Linked DNA regions of Homo sapiens: region 1 is linked to region 2. Evidence: promoter capture Hi-C in human tissues and cell types (Jung and others, 2019). All regions are on one chromosome and are shown on one strand. The core of a region is centred on a gene start or on the middle of the fragment in contact, and the rest is flanking DNA. Distances in the headings are between cores, read along the strand shown. Region 1 holds the start of SYVN1 (synoviolin 1). Region 2 overlaps SF1 (splicing factor 1).

Region 1 (6,376 bases), core at 2,460-4,959, 360 kb before region 2:
GGTTTCACCGTGTTAGCAAGGATGGTCTCGATCTCTTGACCTCATGATCCGCCCGCCTCAGCCTCCCAAAGTGCTGGGATTATAGGCATGAGCCACCACGCCCGGCCACGCCTGGCTAGTTTTGTATTTTTAGTAGAGAAGGGGTTTCACCGTGTTGGCCAGGCTGGTCTCAAACTCCTGACCTCAAGTGATCTGCCCGCCTCAGCCTCCCAAAGTGCTGGGATTACAGGCGTGAGCCACCGTGACTGGCCAAACATTTGATTTTTTGAAGCTATGTAAATAGTATTTTGAAATTTTCAATTTCTGATTGCTTATTGTTAGTACTTAGAAGTACAACTGCTTTTTGTCGAGGCATGGTGGCTCATGCCTGTAATCCCAATACTTTGGGAGGCCAAGTCAGGAGGATCGCTTGAGCCCAGGAGTTCAAAAGCAGCCTGGGCCTGATAGCAAGACCTTGTAGCTACAAAAAAAATTCTTTTTAATTAGCCTGCCATGATGGCATGCACTCCACCCCAGCCTGAGGAAGTAGGCAATGCTTTTTGTGATATTTGAGGAGAAAGACGTTCCTGGGAGAAGGAAAGACATATGCAAAAGGTGATGGGCCTGCCTGGGGCATGGTAGGGATGGTACACCTGAGACCCCACAACTGGGCATTATGCCTGAAGGGCAGAGTGTGGGAGGGAAGGCAAGACGTGAGCTCAGGTGTCAGGAGATCTCTCTGGCCGTTCTATGGAAAACGGATGAGGAGGAAAGCACAGGAAAGGGGACTGTTGCATTTTCCCAGGCATGAGATGATGATGGTCTGGACTAGGACACTGGCAGTGAAAATGGCAAGGAAAGAATGAATTCTAGAGACACTCAGGAGGTAGAACCCACAGGATGTCCTCTCTTGCCTATTGCACCGCAAGAGCCTCCTAACTGGTTTCCCTGCTCCCACACTTGCCTTCCTCCCCACTACAGATTATTCCAACACAGGAGCTGGAGTGACTTTTTTTTTTTTTTTTTTAGTTTTTTTTGAGACTGAGTCTCGCTCTGTTGCCCAGGCTGGAGTGCAGTGGCACGATCTCAGCTCACTGCAAGCTCCGCCTCCCAGGTTCACGCCATTCTCCTGCATCAGCCTCCGGAGTAGCTGGGACTACAGACGCCCGCCACCAAGCTCGGCCAATTTTTGTGTTTTTTTATCAGAGACGGGGTTTCACCGTGTTAGCCACGATGGTCTCGATCTCCTCACCTCGTGATCCAACCGCCTTGGCATCCCAAAGTGCTGGGATTACAGGGTCAGCCACCACACCCAGCCTGGAGTGACTTTATTACACCTAAGTCAGAGCATGTCACACCTCTGCTCAGCACCCTCCAATGACTTCTCACGTCACTCAGAGGAAAAGCCAAGGTCCCTGTGATGGCCAATGCGATCTTGCCCTGGCCTCTTTCCTACGCACCCTTCACTAGTTCCACTATAGCCACACTCATCTCCTTCAACAAAGCAGCACTGCTCCACCTTTATTGAGCTGTAACTCTTTACCCAGACATCCACTTGGCTCATAACCTCACTTCCTTTAAGTCTTTGCTCAAATGTCACCTTCTCAAGGAAGCTTACCCGATTATCCTCGCTGATACTGCAACCAGCTTCAAGTACCCCACCACATCCTGATCCCCTTTATTCTGTTCTACTTTTTTCCTATAGCACTGATCATCTTCCAGCGTATTAGATTTTTCACTTATGTCTGTGGTTTGCTGTCACATCTACTAGGATAAGCTCCACAAAGGTAGAGATCTTTATTTTGTTCACTGACATCCTAAGTCCCTAGAACAGGAGACACTTGATCCATATTTGTAGACTAACTGAATAAATGACTTAATTACCAGTTTGGATGTGGGGGCAGATAGTGAGCATGATGCCCGTTTCCGGAGCTGGGGTGCAGACAGTGTCTAGGGACACTGAACTGTTTTAAAAGCAGGATAGATCCCGGCTGGAGACCACACAAGGAAATCATCAGCACCTGGGTCAGGGGCTGGACTGGAGCAGAGGAAATCATGCAGGAAAAGTAAAGAGAAGGACATCAGGTAAAGAGAAGAGGACACATGCATAGCCAGAGAGAAAAGAGGAGCAGAGGCATGTGGATCACAGAAGCTTAGGGAGGAGACTTTCAAGAAGGGGAGAGAGGTTGAGTCAAGCAAGGGCTGAAAGCCAACCATTGGATGCAGTCACTAGAAAGTTACAGATAGGCAAGGTGTTGTGGCTCACGCCTGTAATCCCAACACCTTGTGGGGCTGAGGTGGGAGGATCGCTTGAGCCCGGGAGGTCGAGGCTGCAATGAGCCCTGATGGCGCCAATGCACTCCAGCCTGGGCGACAGAGCAAGACCCTGTCGCAAAAATTAATAAATAAATAAATAAAAAGAAAAGGGGGAAAAAAAGTTATACGTGGCCTTACGGGGAAGCCAACTCTGACTGGTTATAAGCTGAAACTGTCAAGTCAACAGGTGGCAGGGAAGATGGCTGAGACCAACAGCACAGAGATTTAGAGGCAGACAGACCTGGCGCCAATCCTAGGACAGGTTTTGGTAAGCCTTTGAATTTCAATTGCCCCACGTTTCGGGGGAGGGGGTAGCACCCCCTAGCTCATAAACCTTAGTGATTGATGATTAAATGAGATGACGGAGGAAAACGCAAGGCACAAAGTGGATGCATTAGCTCCATTTTGTTAATCAGCAGGCTTAGTTGGCTGCGACCCAGACACGAACTAAAATACAGTGCAGCCCAGGACCAGTGGGGGTCTTGCTTATGGCTCAGAGCTGAACAACACATGGGCAGCAAAATCAGACACTGAGATGCGGGCAGGCCTGCGACGCTGAAGTCAATTCCTTTGAACAAACAGAACACTTCCGTCCCAAGATTAGCAGGAATTAATCTCCCAGTCTCGGGTACACCTGGTTGTCCCTCCCTGTCCTGGCGCGGCAAACGTTCCCGGAGGCCAGCCAGGGATCACTCGCCCAAGGACTGAGCTTTCCCTACTCTCAGCCAACTGGAGCGGGACCAGGGCCTAGGCAACGCAGCTGTCCGCCCCTAACAACCACTCACCTGCTTTCCCCTTTCTATAGGCCAGCAAAGGTACATTCTTTTTCTTATTGGGCCGCGTAACTTATCGCAACCAATCAGTGGCAGCCACGGGACCCAACTCACTCCCACACAACTTGTGGGGGTGATCATGGAGAAGACAAATTTTTGTTTTCCGCATCCAGTTCTCTCAGAGAGCACCGTATTTGTCAAACTGTTGTGACTCTCCCTAAATGTTTAAGAAAACATTTCATTCCCCTCAGGCTTGTATAGTCTGTCCCTGGCCTACTCCCCGCTCCAGGTGGTACAGCCCGCAAGCGGCTCCCCTTCCCAGCTGCTCGCGGGGCCGAGTCCCCCAGTCCGAGGAGGCCACTCAGCGCAGGAGCCATACCATCTGTGACTAATAAATAATAGGGGGACCTCCGACTCCCCCCTGTTGCCTTATTACCTTCCGACCACCTCTCGGACCTCTTGCCCAGCCCTTCCCCGTAGACATCACCCCAGATACGGTGGTGACACCATTGCTATGGGCCCACGTAGGGCGCAGTGCGAGCCAGGGCAGGACGCACTTGGTACGACCCACGCCGCGCCCCGCGCCGCCGGAAGTGAGGTGTCTGACCCCCGAAGTTCCGGTTCGCAGGGGGTGGGGAGTGTTGTTAACCGGAGGGGCAGCCGCAGTCGCGCGGATTGAGCGGGCTCGCGGCGCTGGGTTCCTGGTGAGTGGGGCGAAGTCTGGCCCGAGTTGTGGTTGGGGTCGGGACCCGAACCTTCCCCTTGAGGTCTCCGGAGTCGGCACGCCCCTCAGCCCCGCCGCACGCTTTCGGCCTGTCAGCTGGCCGGAGACCTCAGACGCCGGTGCGGCCGCTTTGCTCAAGCCTGGGCCCTGCCTGCGACGCCCGCAACTCCTGGTGCTCACAGGTGCGCGGCCGCGAGGGCGACCCGGCTCCTCCCGTCCCGCTGCTGCTCTCTCCCGTCCCGCTGTTTTTGTGGTGCTCTGAGTTGACACTACTCCGGGGGTCGGGGGACCCCAGGATTCCAGGCTGACGTTCCCCGCCCGCTCCCGCAGGGCGGGCGTCCGAACTGCCCACCCTAACACAGCTGTCACCGGCGCTGTCGCCTGCCCAGCCTGCTATCCTCTGTGCCTTGGCTGCTCTCAGCCCTGGCTGCGCATTCCCGCCCCTGGAGCAGATTTCTGCTGTTGCCTCCCACCCCATCTTCTCCACCGGAGGGTCAGCGGTGCAGCTCCCCCTCCTCCAACATTGCAGCTTTTCCTCATCACCTCCCTAGAGGAGGCGGCTTGGCAGGCAGCGTGGAAAGAGCCCTAGATTTGAAGCAAGACTGACCCAGGTTCCAGGCCTTGCGTCAGTGTGATCACTTAACCCCTTCGAGTCTAATTTGTAAAATGGGGTAGCGTAAGCTATTCTTTGTCTGATGATTTCGAGGGCGAAATGTGATTTCCCCCCCACTTTCTCCTATGAATTGAGGCTGTGCCAGGCACCGGGCTATTTTGCACAGCACGAGCATCACATAAGTTATTTTCTTGCCCCATGCAGGTCTCCGGGCCAGGGCAATGTTCCGCACGGCAGTGATGATGGCGGCCAGCCTGGCGCTGACCGGGGCTGTGGTGGCTCACGCCTACTACCTCAAACACCAGTTCTACCCCACTGTGGTGTACCTGACCAAGTCCAGCCCCAGCATGGCAGTGAGTTCAGGGCTCAGGGAGGGAGGAACTCCCTGGGAGGGAAGGAGGAGTCTGCCTGGGCAAGGGGCGGGGCTAGAGGTCAGGTAAGTAGGGAAGTAGCCGCCAGCTGCCTAACTTTGAATAAACTGTGATGAGGATGTGGAGGATCCTGCATGATGAGTCCCAAGGAGAGGAAAGCAGAAAGTGACCTCAAACCACAGCCTCTCCCCACTCCTAGGTCCTGTACATCCAGGCCTTTGTCCTTGTCTTCCTTCTGGGCAAGGTGATGGGCAAGGTGTTCTTTGGGCAACTGAGGGCAGCAGAGATGGAGGTAAGATGTCGGCTGCCCCAAAGGTGAGGGCAGGGTGCTGGGAAAGAATGTTTGGTATCCACATTATTCCCTGCCTGGCCCCCAGCACCTTCTGGAACGTTCCTGGTACGCCGTCACAGAGACTTGTCTGGCCTTCACCGTTTTTCGGGATGACTTCAGCCCCCGCTTTGTTGCACTCTTCACTCTTCTTCTCTTCCTCAAATGTTTCCACTGGCTGGCTGAGGACCGTGTGGACTTTGTGAGTCAAGGCAGGGAGTTCTGGAGCAGGTGGAAGCCAGGGAGTAGCCAGCGGGCAGGCTTAAGGAGCAGGGAGGGCTAGGTTGAGGGTGTGGGGTGAGCCCCAGGCCTCCTGACAGGCCTCTTCTGTGCTCTGCCTCAGATGGAACGCAGCCCCAACATCTCCTGGCTCTTTCACTGCCGCATTGTCTGTGAGTGAGATTCAGGGGAGGGGAAGGGAGGACTGGAACGTGAACCGTGGACCTGTACTCCAGAGCACAGGCTACCCCCCACAGCTGTACAGGAAAGATAATTTAGGAAGTTAATTTGCATAGTCTCTGTGCTGTTCCACTCTAGGGCTTCTCAACTGCCTGGGCCCTCAGCCCTTTGCCTTCTCACCTGCAGCCTGGGCAGCCCCAACAACTCCCCCTCCCCCAGGAAGTTCCCAGAGGGCCAGGTTCAGTGGAGTGTGCCCACCTGACTAGATCGCTGGGGCCATGGTGGGCTTGAGGGTGGGGCTGTCCTAGAGCATTAAACAGCTGTTGGGCCCTGGGCTGACCCCCCCACCCTGCATGTGTGGGGGTCCCCACAGCTCTTATGTTCCTCCTGGGCATCCTGGACTTCCTCTTCGTCAGCCACGCCTATCACAGCATCCTGACCCGTGGGGCCTCTGTGCAGCTGGTGTTTGGCTTTGAGGTAAAACTGGCTTGGGAGGTTGAGAGGACAAGCCCGAGGTGACCCCACATGTGCCTTGAATAACCCAACAGACCCTTCCTCAGCACCTGCTATGTGGCCAACCTGTGCTGGCCACCAAGGGGCAGTGATCAGATATGGCTCCTGCCCTCCACACGCTCACTCCTAGGTGACTGGGGAGACGCACAAAGAGGCTAGGACAGAGGAGGAGCCCCAACCTGGGGCTCAGGAGAGGGTTCCTGGAGGCTCGTGCCGGAGCTAGCTGGTAATGGACAGGAGAGGATTAGTTCCATGGACAACTGGAGGCGTGTCCCTGGCAGAGAGAGAATGTGTTCAGTGACAACAGCTCATATTTGTTGAGTGCGAATTTCACACCAGGCCCTATGCTGAGCTCCTGAC
Region 2 (5,767 bases), core at 9-2,508:
TATCTTTTTTGAGATGAGATACTTTCACGACTTTGGTATCATCTGTCAGTTTTTGCCCAGTGAGTTCTGCATTTGCAGCTCCTTGTTTTGGTCTGTTCGTAACTGCAGTGTTCTCCATGAGTATCAGGAAGGTAGGGTTTCACTTAGGAGTAAGAACAGTCCCCAGTCCAGCAGCCACCCTTTTCAGCTGCTGTTCATTGCCAGTTGATGAGGTGAGTGTCATCTGCCTCTCTGGACAGGCCCCAGTGGAGAACACCGCAGGTACTGTAAACCAAGTACTTTTCACAGCGTGGCCTTTCACCATAATTTTATATTTCTCCCCCTAAAATGTGGTCTTTTACTTTTTATAGGTACTTTCTGAAAAAAAAAAAATGACAAAAAGTGGTTCTGAAAGTGTGTTTACAATTTACCCCTTTTTATTTTCTTGAATTTAAGAGTTTAACCTTCCCTTCAACATCTTTTCTGGTTTGGTCTATGGAGAGCTGTCTTAAAATGAAGGCTCTTGTATTTACTTTTAAAGAACTCTGCTGGGAAAGGGATATTGCATGGATATGGAATGAAGTGCTAGGATAAAAAGGTTTTATTTGCTGGGAGGTTTTGAGAATTAATGACTATCCACAGTGGAATTGAAATTAACCTCAAAATTGCTTTTTTGGAAAAAAAAGTTTTTAATGCAAGTTTTATCTTTATATACCTGTGCAGCTGTCTCAAAAAAGTTCACTTTATAAACATTTCCTACTAACCAAATAAACATCCCCTTTGGAGGAAATTCGGGCAAAGACCTCCTAAACCTACGAGGCTGTGGCCTTCACAACCAAAAAGCTTCAAGGCCAGCATGTTACTACTTTTGAGGGTCTTAATTTCCTGTTTTTTAGACTGCTGAGAATTTTGAGGCGTTGGAATTGTCTGTCTCCTTTCACAGTACTACTAATACTTGTTCTTTCCCCTACTGTTCCTGTCTACTCCCACCCATTCCATTGTGTCTCATATTAGACTAGTCTGGGTCTTTACATCCTTGTGAAATGCCCCTAGTGGAGTGATATCCCAAGAACACAAGCATACTTAGAAGATGGGAAGAGCACAAATTCTTTATATCTCCATTTCTGTTTTTGTGGAGGGCTAGTTAGTTCACTGGGCCCTAAGGACTATTTATAGCTATAATCAAAATAGAATCAAAGGAGAGGTGTAGTTCTCCACAGAAGAGAATGACCCTTTTTATTTAGATCAGGCCCCACATCTCCATAGTCAGCTAGGAAGACTCACCTTCTCCCCTCAGTGAAGGTGACTTTCACCTCGAGTTGTTGAGCTTAATACTCAACTGCAAAGTCAGAACTTTTTAGGCATAAAGGAGCTTGGGGAACCATGTGTCTTACTACTTTTCTGTCTCCCACGGTACATACTGCTTTGTCCAGGATGCCCTCAATATCTTTTTTTTTTTTTTTTTGAGAGACTGAGTCTTGCTGTGTCGCCAGGCTGGAGTGTAGTGGTGCGATCTCGGCTCACTGCAACCTGCGTCTCCCGGGTTCAAGTGATTCTCCCACCTCAGCCTCCCAAGTAGCTGGGACTACAGGCGCACGCCACCATGCCCAGCTAATTTTTTTTGTAGTTTTAGTAGAGACGGGGTTTCACCATGTTGGCCAGGATGGTCTCGATCTCTTGTCCTCATGATCTGCCTGCCTTGGCCTCCCAAAGTACTGGGATTACAGGTGTGAGCCACTGTGCCCGGCCAGTATTTTCTTTCGATAATAATGGGTTTTCATTTCTTCAGGGTTTTAGTGTGTGGGTGTGGTATAGCCCTGTGGATGTATTTAAAGTTAGAAGGAATCTTTGGTTAGACACGCATTAATCCTATCTTGGAGCCAGCTCAGTTTTAACCCAACCTAGTAACATTTGCCCTTATTGGAGATGCCTGCTGAAAATTCTCAGATGCTGCGAAGGTAAGGAACAGGTGGTTATTCCGCATGTTGAAGAAAGCTGCTCTGGCTCTGCAGTTCCCATTATCTTGGAAAATCAGCTGTGTAACATTTCCCTGGCGTCACTGGCAACTTTTGTGAAACCCTCATCTCTCTTTTTCATGCACAGCCTCATTGGTCAAGGCCCGAGGGCCAAGTACATTGTCCTTGAACACACATTCCATTCTTCTACACGCCTGCTCCCCATATGAACAGTGAGCCTGAAAACAAATTCTTAGCACTTTATGGTTACTGGTTTATTAAGATATGTGGTTTGTCATTTAATATTTGAATAAATATTTCATATAATTGAATAAGAGCTGCAGGTATTGGGAGACCCTTACTAGTACAGGTCTGGTTGTACAGAAAGAGTATGTACAAATTTCTATAAGGTGTTGAATTTTGTTATTAAATGTCTTATTTAAGGAATTTTAAATGTATTAATGAAAATGATCTTTGCTCAATTGGTATTTTTCCTTGTCCCATGTTAATTGGGTCTCATTTTGGGCTATGTTTAACATTTAATGAAGAAAAAACTCAATTCTTGCCCTCAAGTAATTTGATGGGAGTCGGGTATTGGTGACGTAACATGGTTTATGGTTCTGGGTACCAATGGTAAGCAAGCCTTGGTGGGGAGGAAGAGGTGAAACACCTCCTAATAATTGCTTGGATGTTAGCCTTAGTGAACAGTCTTTATTGCTAACCCCTCTTCCAACAAACTGTTTGCTTCCTTAAGTGATAACCATTTTGAAGTGAAAAAAACCTATAGATGTAAAAGGACTCCTGCCGATAGGTGGTTGGGGGTTTTTGCTTCAATGTGTTCACTGATCAGTCGTCCCTTTCAAAGTCTCCGAGTTCTTCATGCTTGTTGTTGAGATTTGAGATGTTTATTGGTAACATTGTCTTTTTTCCATCCTTTTTTTTCTTTCCTAACCTGGTTTCTTCCAGTGCAACTGCAGATAGAAGACCTGACTCGTAAACTGCGCACAGGAGACCTGGGCATCCCCCCTAACCCTGAGGACAGGTTGGGAAACAGTTTTAACCAGCTGACAGTAACGCTTTTACCTTTTTCTCAATACGTTTTACTGGTGGCAACATATTGTGTCAGTTCAATAAAATCATAGTATGACGACTGTACCCTGACCACTTTGGGGATTAAGGTTTAATTAGAAATATGTATGGTCAGTCAACAGTTAGAAAATTGGAATAAAACTTAAAAATGTTGGGAGAATAAAAAGTTACAGGAAAATGGACAACTGGTTTCCAATTGGTAAGCATGTAGATCTTAACCTGATTTACCCACCCTTAGGGGACAGTGAGGTGGCCCGTTAACCTGCCTTTTCAGTACCTGCTTTGGCCAAAAGCCCAGGGCATAGAGTTTTTCTCACAGGTACACAGTGCAGGGACTAAAAATATTTTTGAGCATCACTGAACTTGAGCAAGCCAGGAGCTCTGGTCAGCTCATTGCTGCAGTCTTCCTGCTCATGGTTTTGAGATGGTTTCAAAATCAGATGAGATTTCTAACCAACTTCTTTCACTGCCAGTTAACTTTCAGCCTTGGCCATTGCCTTGGGGGTGTTGGGAGGGGCCAGAATATTCTCACCTATTTTGGGAAGGCATGCAACCAACCCTAAATTACTTTTTTTTTTTCCTTAAAGGGAGCGTGGGCCTCAAACAGCTGTGGTCATGTCATTTCAGTTTGCAGTTTCTCTCACCTCAGAAAAATAAATTGTGTGGGGGAGATGAACTTTTTTAAACTGGAATTTTATTAGCTGATTGAACAGCTAAAATTGGTCATTTAATTAGAAGGGCAGTAAGTCTCTCCCTCTCACTGAATTTTCTCTTAGTACATACAGAATAGTTGAAAAGACTTTGCTTTAAAAAGTAGTGTTTTTGGTTTTTGTTACCCAGTTAATAGCTTATTAAATCAGGAAGATGATGTAATGGCTTTAGAAGTCACTCACTCATGCATCTTTCTTCCGCCCTTTGCCAGGAAACATTAACTTCCTTGTTTCTCCATATTGACTCTTTAATTTGACTTACTACATTTGCTATATTTTACCTATAGATAGATTTTGGTTGTAGGGTTGTGTTGTGTTTCGTTTCTTTTTGAAGATTTTTTTTTTTTTTAAATTTACATTGTAGGTCATAGACCACAACTGTTTAGTGCCTTTTTGGCCTTTTTCCCTTTAATAATATGTCTACAGGTCACCAGTCAATTCCTCCAAAGGTTGAATTTTTAACAAACCTTCTTTGCTTCCTGGATAACTGGGATTAGAATTTAGTTGATCTAGCCGATGCCTGTTGGAGGTGAAGAAGTCGGGCCAGTCTAACCTCTAGAATACTAGCTTTTGCCTTTCACTTCTGCAATTTGGGAGGAGGTTAAACTGTTGTGAGGCCTTCACATGGCCAATTGGGTGCTGGTAAGACTTGTTTTTGTAACTAGCTAAGAATGCTTAATTCTAGACAGCTGTGGGGTGGGAATTAGAAATGTCAAGCATGTTAGAAATAAAACCAGAGCAGGGTTTTTCCTCCCTTCTATTCAGTTTTGAAAGAGGCCCTAATGCCTGATTGGTTTTGCTTTTGAGCCCAGGTTGGAGGGAAATGCATGGGTTTTCTTAATTAAGATAATTTCTTAAAAAGGTGTTATATCACTTAAGCCACTTTATTGTTATTTTGATGCTGCTTAACTTGCACAGTAAAAACATGTTTAAAACTTTTCTTGTAGACTTAAATGTATAAGATGGTAGTCTAATGAGCTGGGGTATGTTTGCTTTTGTTCACTCTTAATGGATTGTGCTAACAGTTTATACAAATGCTAGAAACGGAGGTGTCATTTAGCCGTCATTAGCCATGAACAAACCTGACCTTTTATTCCATCGTGTGTGTAACGTGGTGTGACATGGTTCCCTTTAGGCTGAAGACAGTGGGAGCAGCCGAGTTCAGTCCTTGCTCTCCAACTAGGCAAGGTTCTCTCAACTAAACCAAGGGTATAGGAGTCTTGATTACTTTCAGTATGTTTTTTTAATAACCTGATCCACATGGTCTCTTCCCTTCTTGCAGCTGCTACTAAATTTTCATTCAGAATATCAAGCTATGGTCCTTTTTGTAATCTTAACTCAAAATTCTAGGAGTGTAACCTCTCTTTTTTATTACCGCAAAATCCAGCTGTGGTAAACTGACCATTTTATCATTACATTTTTTTACTTGTAGCAACAGCATTTTACTCCTTAAAAAAATGAGAGAGAGAAAATCTGCTTTCTGGACTTGTAAACTCTGGTGGAGAATCATAGGTTTTCCCCTTGCTGTTTGCAGGTTCAGACCCTAGACAAGTATGACCAAATCTGCATTTGCAGCCTCTCGCAGAAGCTGCTTTAGCACTTTAACGTTTTTCTCTACCCAGACTCCCCAACCTCGAACAGCCAGAAAACAGGTTGTCTCCTGGGCCTTGGACACAGCCAGCCAGGCCATTGAAGGAAAAGCAAAGACGAAGCGAACCATCTCTCTCCATTGTGGGGGCCAAGTAGCTGCAGTAGCCTTCAGTCCCAGTTGCATTGGGTTAAAGAGCTCATACATACTATGTGTTAGGGGTACAGAAGCTTTTCCTCATAGGGCATGAGCTCTCCAAGAGTTAACCTTTTGCCTAAACTTGGGGTTTCTGTGGTTCATAAAGTTGGGATATGTATTTTTTTTCAAATGGAAGAAAATCCGTATTTGGCAAGAAGACTCCAGGGGATGATACTGTCCTTGCCACTTACAGTCCAAAGATTTTCCCCAAAGAATAGACATTTTTTCCTCTCATCACTTCTAGATGC

Evidence for each region. Contacts are between HindIII fragments. The study calls those that stand out against the background at their distance.
Region 1: a contact is called between the fragment with the promoter of SYVN1 here and a fragment that was not itself captured in region 2, in 1 of the 25 tissues and cell types used here (dorsolateral prefrontal cortex).

What each region holds. Positions count from the first base shown.
Region 1 is chr11:65,131,852-65,138,227 of GRCh38, reverse strand. It overlaps SYVN1 (synoviolin 1), which reads left to right and starts at 3,709. Exons shown (of 16, transcript NM_172230.3): 1 at 3,709-3,772; 2 at 4,610-4,758; 3 at 4,976-5,068; 4 at 5,154-5,306; 5 at 5,448-5,496; 6 at 5,877-5,980. The coding sequence starts at 4,627. RefSeq lists silencers at 3,030-3,213, 4,930-5,106 and enhancers at 3,199-3,708, 3,067-3,970, 4,259-4,328, 5,829-5,878. The HindIII fragment of the contact is 5,976 bases long and covers 1,863-6,376 here.
Region 2 is chr11:64,770,639-64,776,405 of GRCh38, reverse strand. SF1 (splicing factor 1) reads left to right here. Exons shown (of 13, transcript NM_004630.4): 3 at 2,901-2,976. Among named protein-coding and RNA genes, the nearest start is that of SF1, 5.0 kb to the left of the region's middle. RefSeq lists an enhancer at 3,581-3,670. The HindIII fragment of the contact is 3,858 bases long and covers 1-3,187 here.